Regions from separate parts of the Homo sapiens genome. Here region 2 is linked to region 1. The links are contacts of gene promoters, found by promoter capture Hi-C in human tissues and cell types (Jung and others, 2019). All regions are on one chromosome and are shown on one strand. Each heading gives the region's core, a stretch centred on a gene start or on the middle of the fragment in contact. The rest is flanking DNA. Distances are from core to core; before and after follow the strand shown. Region 1 holds the start of IDH2 (isocitrate dehydrogenase (NADP(+)) 2). Region 2 overlaps CRTC3-AS1 (CRTC3 antisense RNA 1).

Evidence for each region. The method cuts DNA at HindIII sites, captures the fragments that hold promoters and counts their contacts. A contact is called where the count stands out against the background at its distance.
Region 2: a contact is called between a fragment that was not itself captured here and the fragment with the promoter of IDH2 in region 1, in 1 of the 25 tissues and cell types used here (spleen).

The regions. Positions count from the first base shown.
Region 1 is chr15:90,098,478-90,103,868 of GRCh38, forward strand. IDH2 (isocitrate dehydrogenase (NADP(+)) 2) reads right to left here and starts at 3,991. Exons shown (of 11, transcript NM_002168.4): 1 at 3,799-3,991. The coding sequence starts at 3,913. It overlaps IDH2-DT (IDH2 divergent transcript), which reads left to right and starts at 3,655. Exons shown (of 3, transcript NR_149130.1): 1 at 3,655-3,901; 2 at 4,903-4,975. RefSeq lists enhancers at 2,417-3,272, 3,273-4,127 and silencers at 2,662-2,711, 2,772-2,861, 3,352-3,421, 3,742-4,201. The HindIII fragment of the contact is 13,716 bases long and covers 1-5,391 here.
Region 2 is chr15:90,672,012-90,677,542 of GRCh38, forward strand. All of the region lies in intron 2 of CRTC3-AS1 (CRTC3 antisense RNA 1), which reads right to left. Among named protein-coding and RNA genes, the nearest start is that of LINC01585, 15 kb to the left of the region's middle. The HindIII fragment of the contact is 6,170 bases long and covers 1-4,710 here.

The DNA of each region.
Region 1 (5,391 bases), core at 2,741-5,240:
GGCAGGACAGCAACTTTGTATATTTTATGTATGTATGTATGTATGTATGCATGCATGTATGTATGTATGTATGTATGTATGTATTGAGACAGAGTCTCACTCTGTCGCCTACACTGGAGGGCAGTGGCGTGATCTCGGCTCACTGCAAGCTCCACCTCCTGGGTTCAGGCAATTCTCCTGCCTCAGCCCCTGAGTAGCTGGGACTACAGGCGCCTGCCACCACACCCAGCTAATTTTTGTATTTTTAGTAGAGACCGGGTTTCACCATGGTGGCCAGGCAGGTCTCGAACTCCTGGCCCCAACTGATCCGCCTGCTTCGGCCTCCCAAAGTCCTGGGAGCCACCGCACGCGGCCAGAACAGCCATTTTGGAACAAACTCTAGTAGACTCCTTGGTGTCATCCTTCATTCCTTCCCTTCTCTCACATCCAAACCACCAAAACCAGAAGCCACCCTCAGACAAGCCCACCCTTGCCATAAGTGAGTGCCTGCTGCGTATCTAGATTTTTATGTAAAATCGCCTGAATTGGAACCTTTCCCCACTACTGGCTCCTCCTTCAAAATATATCCAGAATCCAACCACTTCTTCACCATCCCCAGCGCCACCACCCAGGTCCAAGCCATCATCCTCTCTTGCCAGGTCCCTGAAGCTAGAATGCTCCCGATAAGATGGAAATCAGGTAACGATACTCCTCTCAAAACCCTGCAAAGTAAAAGCGAAAGCTCTCAAAAATGGCCTGTGAGCCCTCTACAGACCCCACTGCCGAACCTCATCCTGTCACTCCACCTGGTGCCTGCTGAGCCAGCCTTCGCACCATCCTCTCTGCTCTTCCATCATGCCCTTGGCACCTGCGAGTCCCTCTTCCCCCAATACCGAAAATGGCCTGCTTCCTCCCCTCCTCAGCGATTCCTTCAGTGAGGACTTTTCTGGCTGCCCTATACAAACTTTTGTGCACACACCTTTCTTGCCTGTTTCTCCTTAGCTCTTCTCTTTTTGGGGGGAGAAGGGGGAGGCAGGGTCTTGCTTTGTCACCCAGGCTAGAGTGCAGTGGCACAATTGTACCTCACTGCAGCCTTGACCTCCTGGGCTCAAATGATCCTCCTGAGTAGCTAAGACCACAGACATGCACCATCGTGCCTGGCTAATTTTATTTTTTATTTTTGTAGAGATGGGGTCTCACTATATTGCCCAGGCTGGTCTGGAGCTCCCAGCCTCAAGCAATCCTCCCACCTCAGCCCCCCAAAATTCTGGGATTACAGGTGTAAGCCACAGTGCCTGGCCTTCCTTAGCTCTTGTACCCATATATCATACTAGTCAACATCTATCTTGCTTACTGTCTGCCCCCTCCCACATCAGAATTTGAGCTCCTAAGGGTTTTGAAAGAGTCTCTGCTGGTTTTATTCCCAGCTCTATCCCCAGCACCCGGCATGGTGTCTGGCACAAAGTAGGAGTATACTACTTTTGTCAAAGACATAAATAAAGGTCAAGTTGAAGTCAACTCCATCTGTGGTCAGGGCTGCCCTGCCCTCACCTTCTGTTTCACTGAATGTGTTTCCTCCCCTCTCACCCATCTGGTATGCATTGCCACACAGGGGCCAGTGAGTTCTTACCAGCAGCCTGCACCAGATGTACACGGGTGGCATCTCTCTCCAGCAATAGGCCCCATGCCCTGAAGAAGCTTACAACCTACAGTGTACTAATATTTGCAATCTGCTGGTATTTTTAACATGGGTTTACAGAGTATAAACCCCAGGGAAGGCCACAGACCCTGGCTTCCAGTAATCTGAGAGCAGTTTCCAGCACCTCATACCCTGAATGGAACCAGCCCAAGGGCCCTCAACTTCACACAGAAGATGTGGGAGCAGGCCTCAGCCATTCCAAAGAGGCTTTTCCTCAGTACCTACTAGGCCTAAACACAACCACCCCAATCAGCTCTGGCAGGGCAGCTAGGGCCTTATCTGACGTGGCAGAAAGATCTGCACACTTAAGGGGCAAGAATTAAGAAGTTTCTGGGTTAGGAGTGAAGGAAGGCTAGATAAGTAATTCTGCCACTGAGCCGTTCACAGAACTGGTCCGCACTGCCCCAAGCTCTAACTTACCAGAAACATCACCAGCAGTCGCTGGAAGCCTATGGCGTTGCAAAATAGGAAAAGATGCGTGCAGGAATTACCAGGCAGCAAAGACACGGGGCTCTTTTAGCCCCAAAATATTCTTTCCTTGTCATCAAGGGGAATGCCAAGTATTCTGTCTCCAGCTGCGTTGCCAGGTAACAAGCTGGCAGAGTCGCAACTGTAGAGTCTGATGTCCAACTCCAACACCAAGCAATTTCCCCATTCATAACCAACCCACATGGGGACTTCTAGAAGGGCCTGCAACTGACTGCTTTTTCTGTATCCAAATTCAGGACCCTTAAAAGGCGCTTTGTGTTCCTGTTTGTGTGTGTTTTTCGGGTTGTTTGTTTCTTTTTTTTTTTTTTACCATCAAGGCAGAAAAAAAGGGAGAATTAAAGAATGTGGCTAACTTCCACCATATTTTTGCTGAAGGTGGTGTGCTATATGGGAATCTTTGGGTCCTGGGGCACTTGGAACCTGGGAGTTGTTGGGCAGATCCCTGAGGTAGATTCCCAGAGGTACAAAAGCAGACATGCCCCTTTCTCCTTGGCAGGGAAGGTAGGACTGGGGCCCAAGCCTCCCTACCCCCCCGGCTCTAGTCAGCTGCTCCCACAATCCGGTTAACCATTACCTCCTCTGGCCAGGTCAGGGCCAGCGGGCCCCATCCCCTCTTCCTCACTCTCCTGGCTCACTGCAAGGGGCTCCTGGCCAGATTAGGATAGGGGTTTCCATGGCAACAGGCATTAGGCAGGGCCAAGGGACCTACATTGTTCCCTGCCTTTTGTAGCTGTGTTGGGTAGCCAGGGTGAGGGGGCAGGCCGATGCCCACACGCCAAGCAAGGCAGCCTGCGTTGGCAACGGAGGCTCGGGCTAAGTCTTGCTTATTACGACCCGACTACTGTCTTCCCTCCTAAGCAGGGAACTAAGGGTACCCAGAAGCCGTGGGAACGATTCCGCAAAGTGACATTTTGCGCGGGCTGCCAGGTCTCTGCGGCGAGTGAGCCAGGCAGGGAGGGCATGTGCCTGCCAAGGCAGGTCAAGTCAAGGAGAGGCCCCAGGATGGAGCCTCAAGTGCAGCGATGAAGGCGAAGGGGTGGGGGTGGGGGCGGCCAAACAAAAGGGGAAAATTAAAAAGGACGCTCCTCCAGCTGTCGTGTAAAAGGCTCCAAAAATAGCTGACGTGGGCCTGGTATCAGCGCGCGCCTGGCTGAAAAGGAAGGGGAAGTGCATGTCTCCCGCCTCCCAGCCTTTGTCTGAGCAGGGGCCGAGCCACGACCCTCCCTCTCGCCAGGGGAGCGCGCGGGGTGCTCCAGCCCCCCACGGGTGCTCGTCTCGTTCCAGGGGCGCAGGGCGGGCAGGCCACCCTTCGGGTCCGGGACACTCTCAGGACCCCCTCCCGAAATACCTAGGGGCGCGCGGCAGCCCCGAGCCCCCGCCCGCGCAGAGCTGGCCGTCGCCCGGGCCACCAGTTGCCACCGTCCCTCAAGTCCCCACCCCAGCGCCTGGCACGGCCGGGAAGCGCCGGGCGGGGGAGCGCGGAGCGAAGCTGCCCCGCGGCCCTTTGTGCGCCTGACCCCGCCGTCCCCGGGCTGCGGGCTGGCGGGACGTGCTTCCCGGCCCCAGCCTGGGAAGCCGCCACGTCGCAGCTGGGGGCGCGCGCCTGCCTGGACCCTCCGCGCGGCACTCACAGTGGCGCCGCGGCTGCTCTTGCGAGGTGGGGGCTGTCAGGGCCGCCGGCGCCCAGGCCGGCCGCGAGCCTGAGGCTCTGCAGAGCGAGCGCACGACCCGCAGGTAGCCGGCCATCCCAAGCTGGAGAGCGAACGAGCAGGGCGGGAGAGGTCCGAGCGCGCGCCGCTCCTCCCGGCTGCCTGGCCGCGGGCTAACGCTGGGCCTGGCGGGCGCTGGCCGCGCGGGCACCACCGGGGCGGGGCTGCCGGGCCTGCCGCCCCATTGGGCCTTGCCGGGGAGGAGGCGGGGCCAGGGCCGCCGACGCCTCCAGCGTCCCGCGGGAGCCGGGACCCGGCGGCCAGGCCCGGCTGGTGCTTCTCTGGGCGCCGCTGAAAGCCCAGCTCCGCAGGAGCTACAGGCGTGAGACCCACCGGGACCCGCGAGCGGGATCAGGGCTGGGGGATTAGCAGAGCCGCTTGCGAGGCTGACCCTCTCCAGGATGCCCCATGTAAACCTGGATGTCAGTTTCTGACGCTTTAGCTTAAACCCAAAAGCCAATCTGAGCGAACTCTTGCTTCCCTCGCCTGCCGGGCTGAACCCAAAGGCGCATTAGCCCAGTGCGGCTGCTTCATTCTTGAGCTAAGACCGCCGGCGGCGTCTGCGCCTCCGCGAGTCCGCTGTCAGGTCCAGCTGGTGTAGAGAGAGTTGAAATCTCACTTTGGGCCGGGCGCGGTGGCTCACGTCTGTAATCCTAGAACTTTTGGGAGGTCGAGGCAGGCGGATCACTTGAAGTCAGGAGTTCGAGACCAGGCTGGCTAACATAATGAAACCCCTGTCTCTACTAAAAATACAAAAATTGATCGGGCATGGTGGCGCGCGCCTGTAATCCCAGCTACTCAGGAGGCTGAGGCGGGAGAATCACTTGAACCTGAGAGGCAGAGATTGCAGTGAGCTGAGATCATGCCACTGCACTCCAGCCTGGGCAACAGAGTGAGACTCCGTCTCAAAAAAAAAAAAAAAAAACCACGAAAAAAGAAATATGATTGGACCAGAAGGCCAATAACCTGAGTGGGGAAACCCAGCAAGTCCTGTCCGTGTAGATTCTTCTTGACCTTTCTCTGCAGCATTCCTTCCTTCTGAGTACGGGGCAGGACTCTCTCTGGGATGGAGGGGTCTTAGGACCTGCAAGCAAACAAGGTAGGTCAGATAATTTATGGCCAGTTTTTACCCAGAAATGTGTGGGAGAAAGAGTAATATTTTTGGGTTCGATGTCTGGCTTTGGGGGAGAAGGGCTCTGGTTTCTATGACCTGCCTTGAGGAAGAAGGATTCCAGTTTCTATGGCTGGCCTCGGAGGAGAGTGAGGGGCCAAAGACAGGAGGGAGGGAGAGGGTCAGAGAGAGCTGCTCCTGAGGCCTGCATTTTGGGGTGTTGTTTTCTGAGACCCTAGAGTAGTCAAACAGCCACAGTAGAAACAGTTCCATTTTTGCCTGTTTGCATATAAAAGATGGGTTTGTTTGTTTGTTTTAATTAAAAATAGAGATGGGGGGATCTCACTATGTTGCCCAGGCTGGTCTCCAGCTCCTAAGCTTAAATGATCCTCCCGCCTCGGCCT
Region 2 (5,531 bases), core at 376-2,875, 570 kb after region 1:
CCAAGTATGATGGGGAGTCCACTGGGTCTAGTGACAAGGAAGATGGCAGATGTCGGACTGCAGATGGGGGAAGAGTGAACAGGTGCCGTGGATTGAATATGTGTATCCCCTCCCCAGATTCATCTGTTGAAATCCTAACCCCCAAGGTGATGGTATTAGGAGGTGAGCCTTTAGAAGGTGATTAGGTCATGAGCTAAGAGCCCCCAGCAGTGAGATTACTACCCCATGAAAGGACCCCAGAGAGTTCACTCTGTCTCTCTCTCCCCATCACATGAGGATACAAAGAAAATTCGGCCATCTGCAACCCAGAAGACATCCCTTGCCAGAACTCAACCATGCTGGCACCACAATCTCATTCCAGACTCCAGAATGTGAGAAAGTGCATTTCTGTTGTTTATAAGCCTATGGGAGTCTAAAGCAACCTGAATGGACTAAAATAGGTGATGAGAAAGTAAAGCACAGAGTGCATATGAAACTTTCTAGACACTTGAACATGACGCTGTCCTGGGAGCCCTTTGGTTATATTCTCCTCCAAAAGCCCAAAGACCCTGTAGTACCATCACACAGCTATTTTGTTTTGCATATTTTTCTGGAAAAAAGGATAAAACAAATTATGACTGCGTATGATTCAAAGTCCCACCAAAATCTGTATGCCCCTTTCTCACAAAGACACATTTTACATCTTTGTTACAAAATTAATATGGGTTCTTTTTCTGAAAGTTCCTAGGATAACTCTTGTCCTCAAATTGTGCCAATTACTGAACAGAGAGGGTTCTGCCTTAAATGAGGAAATGGAATTATGATTGGAACACGTCATTGCTGATTATCGCTGCTCCCAAAAGAAGATGTAAAGAGGTTCAGGTTCCTTCCTTTTGTTTCATTTGTTTGCTTGTTTGTTGAGACAGTGTCTCAGACAGGCTGGAGCGCAGTGGCACGATCATGGCTTAACTCCCTGCAACCTCGAACTCCCAGGCTTAGGTGATCCTCCCTCCTCAGCCTCCTGAGTAGCTGGGACTACAAGTGCACGCCATCACACCTGGCTAATTTGTGTATTTTTTTGTAGAGATGGGATTTCGCCATGTTCCCCAGGCTGGTCTTGAACTCCTGGGCTCAATGGATCTTCCCGCCTCAGCCTCCCAAAGTGCTGGGATTACAGGAGTGAGCCACCTCATCAAGCCCAACCCCCTCCCTTTGAAATAGACTGGTTGTGGATACTCTGTCGGTTCCCCAAGAGGATGGAGAATCCAGTTCTCCCTGGATATATTTTTGTAAAGTACACCAAAGGAGAGGACTAAAGCCACTGTAGAAATAACCAGGGCTGTATGATGTTGTAGAGAGAAAAAGGAAAGTAGAATGAACCCTTAGGACTGGTGTATAGGTTTCTTGGTGTCTTGACATTTCCACCACATTTCTTATTTTAAAGAAACTGAAAAAGTGGTGGACATAGAGAAGGGAGCGCTTCCTGGCTTACGCCGAAGGAGAGCGGAGAGACAGGTGGCAGGAGGGGGAGATGGAGTCCAGGGAGCCCGCCCTTCCTTCCTTCCTTCCTTCCTTCCTTCCTTCCTTCCTTCCTTCCTTCCTTCCCTCCTTCCTTCCTTCCCTCCTTCCTTCCTTCCCTCCCTCCCTCTTTCTTCAGAGTCTTGCTCTGCCGCCAAAGCTGGAGTGCAGTGGTATGATCTCAGCTCACTGCAACCTCCACCTCGCGGGTTCAAGCGATTCTCCCGCCTCAGACTCCCTAGTAACTGGGACTACGGGCGTGTGCCACCACACCTAATTTTTGTATTGTTAGTAGAGATGGGGTTTCACCACATTGGCCAGGCTGGTCTCGAACTCCTGACCTCAAGAGATCCGCCCACCTCGGCCTCCCAAAGTGCAGGGATTACAGGTGTGAGCCACCGCGCCTGGCCCCAGGGAACACCTTTCATGGAAAAGACGAGCATATTTAAATGCTGACACACTGTGGGCAGAGAGTCTGGAGACAGTGGGAGAGACCTGGTTTTGCGGTTCTAGGCCAATAGGAGGGGTGGGATTGAGAGCCCAGGAGCAGGGACTGGCCTTCGAGAGAAAGGGGTGAGCATTCAAGCAGGGTGTCTGGTGAGGGCTGGGAGGGAGAGATCAGGAAGTTGAAGGAACTCTCATCTGATGGATTCTCTTTGTTCTGTGCAATAGGAAGAGAGGGGTTAGTGATGGCAGAGGGATGGGAGGGATGCTGAGCTGACAGAAGGTTTAGAAAAGCTGGTAGGAGGAAGGGAGAAAGAGCCGGCCAGGGAGGTAGAGCAGGCTGGTAGGAAGCGTCACAGGCACTGTGGGTGTTCCCCCAGTATTCATCTTCTCTTCTTCCACGGCGATGGAATATCACTGGTCACTCAAAGACCAAGGGACAAGGGTTGGGTTTTTTATTTTGTTTATGTGCTTGTTTTTTTTTTTCCCCAGCCCAAACATGTTTATCATGAACTCCCTTTTCAGAGCAATGAGAAGCCTCAACATACTTCTTTTTTTTTTTCTTCTGAGAGAGGGTCTCACTCTGTCTCCAAGGCTGGAGTACCGGCATGATCATGGCTTATACAGACTTGACCTCTGGGATCAAGCAATTCTCCCACCTCAGCCTCCCAAAGTGCTGGGATTACAGGCATGAGTCACCACGCCTGGCCCCCAACACACTTCTTGACAGAGTCTGTGGTATCTGCAACCTGAGAATACACACAAAATGCCCAAGCGTTATTCTCTGCACCAAGGCTGCATTTCCCAGGACTCTGACCCCATTTGCAAAAAGAGTCCAGCAGCAGTGAAGGGCCCAGTCTAAGGTGTCACTATTCATCTCATGGCTACCCTGGAAGGAGAGGGGGGCTCTGCACTACAGGATGGTGTGAATTTTGCCCAGCACTATGTTTTTAATATTCATGTATACTGACTTTTCTTTTTATTAAAAAAGTGGGCTGGGCTCGGTGGCTCACGCCTGTAATCCCAGCACTTTGGGAGGCCGAGGCGGGCGGATCACCTGAAGTCGGGAGTTTGAGACCAGCCTGACCAACATGGAGAAACCCCGTCTCTACCAAAAATACAAAATTAGCCGGGCGTAGTGGTGCATGCCTATAATCTCAGCTACTCGGGAGGCTGAGGCAGGAGAATCACTTGAACCTGGGAGGCAGAGGTTGTGGTGAGCCAAGATCGCGCCATTGCACTCCAGCCTGGGCAAACAAGAGCGAAACTCCGTCTCAAAAAAAAAAAGTGATTATTAAATATAATATACAAAAAGGCATAAATAATGCAAAACACCCATGTCCCTATCATCTAGTTTAAAGAAAACATTACTAAGAGCATTCATCTCTGACTGCATCCCTTCTCCCTGCCCTTAAGTACCTGCTCCCTGCTCCCTTGAGTCTGGGATCTTTCCTTCCCACGCCTCCCACCATGCTGGCCCAGAGAGGAGGGCGTTCCGTGGTGCAGTGCATTGCAGGTGGGTGAACAGGCTGCACTGCAACATTGCAGTAACAAATAGAGAAATCATGAAAGCAACAAAAGAGAGATGAGAACTGTACTTTAGAGATACAAATACAAGCAATTGCAGAGACCGAGACCAAAAGCTTAGGTCATTAATATGTTAGCGTAGACACGGTGACAAGTCCAATGGGTGGCTATCTTAGGACACAGAAACCTGTCAGTGAACAAACCACAGGATAATGACAAAGGGGCCTGGACTAGGACTGACGCCTCCAAGCTGTTCCTAGCCAAGGTTTCACCAATATTCAGGTGAGGAGGGATTGCCATTTAAAACGGGAGTAAAGTTGTGGCCACACCAGTGTGTTGTTATCAGGTTTGGTATTAGCTGGCTGGTGAGCTGCAGAAGTCTATTTTACCGTGTGGGTTAGTTTCTCTTTTTTCTTTCTTTCTTTTTTTTTTTTTTTTTTTTGAGATGGAGTCTCGCTCTGTCTCCCAGGCTGGAGTGCAGTGGCGCGATCTCGGCTCACTGCAAGTCTGCCTCCTGGGTTCACGCCATTCTCCTGCCTCAACCTCCCAAGTAGCTGGGACTACAGGCACCCACCACCATGCCTGGCTATTTTTTTTTTTTTTAATATTTTTAGTAGAGTCGGAGTTTCACTGTGTTAGCCAGGATGGTCTCGATATCCTGACCTCATGATCTGCCTGCCTCGGCCTCCCAAAGTGCTGGGATTACAGGCATCAGCCACCGCGCCCGGCCAGGTTAGTTTTTCTTAACAAGTCAATGCTCAGATGCGTCTACCCACCAGGCTCACATTTGAGTCAAGAAAATAAAATGAAAGCCCTACTGGATTGTTGGACATCTTGAAGTACTTCCTTAGGGAAAGATGGGTGAGAGGCTGTTAGCTGCCATTTAACTGTAGTTTCAAATTTATCAAACATCTCTTTGCAATATGTCCAAGTTAGCCTGGAAGTGAACTCGACTTCATAGCCAGAGGAGCTGCCTGCCTTCCAAGCTGTGCTGCTAGCACTCTCCTCCCACCCTGTGCTGGGCACAGTTTACTGTCTTAGATTGTGGGCCTGGAGTTTTCTTTGTGACAAGGTTGTTGTTGTTTTCTTTTTTGAGACAGAGTCTCACTCTGTTGCCCAGGAGTGCAGTGGCATAATCTCAGCTCACTGCAACCTCTGCCTCCTGGATTCAAGCAATTCTCCTGCCTCAGCCTCCCAAGTAACTGGGACTACAGGCAAAGGCCACCATACTTAGCTAATTATTTTTTGTATTTTTAGTAGACACAGGGTTTCACCATGTTGGCCAGGCTGGTCTTGAACTCCTGACCTTGAGTGATCCATCCACCTTGGCCTCCCAAAGTGCTGGGATTACAGGTGTAAGCCACCATGCCCAGCCTGTGACAAGGTTTTTAACTATAAATTCAATTTCTTTAATTAACATTAGGCTATTCAAATGACCTATTTCTTCATGAGTAAGCTCTTAAGTTTTTCAAGAATTTATCCATTTCATCTAAGTTATTGAATCTGTTGGCATAAAGTTGTTTATAATGTTCCCTTGTTATCCTTTCAATATCTATGGAATCTGTAGTGATGTCTCCTCTCTCATTTCTGATATCAGCAATTTGTATTTTGTTTTGTTTTGTTTTTTTCATAATCGGTCAGGCTAGAAGTTATCAATTTTATTGATATTTTCAAAGAACCAGCTTTCAGTTTCATTGACTTTTTCTATTGTTCTTGTGTTTTCCATTTCATTAATTTCTCCCCTTTGATCTTTATTATTTCCTTTTATTTGCTTACTTTGGAATGAATTTGCTCTATTTTTCTAGTTTCTTTAAAATTTTTTTTTTTAATTTTTTTTTGAGACTGAGTTTTTGCTCTTGTTGCCCAGGCTAGAGTGCAATGGCGTGATCTCAGCTCATCACAACCTCTGCCTCCCAGGTTCAAGTGATTCTCCTGCCTCAGCCTCTAGAGTAGCTGGGATTACAGGCATGCGCCACCACGCCTGGCTAATTTTGTATTTTTAGTAGAGACGGGGTTTCTCCATGTTTGCCAGGCTGGTCTCAAACTCCTGACCTCAGGTGATC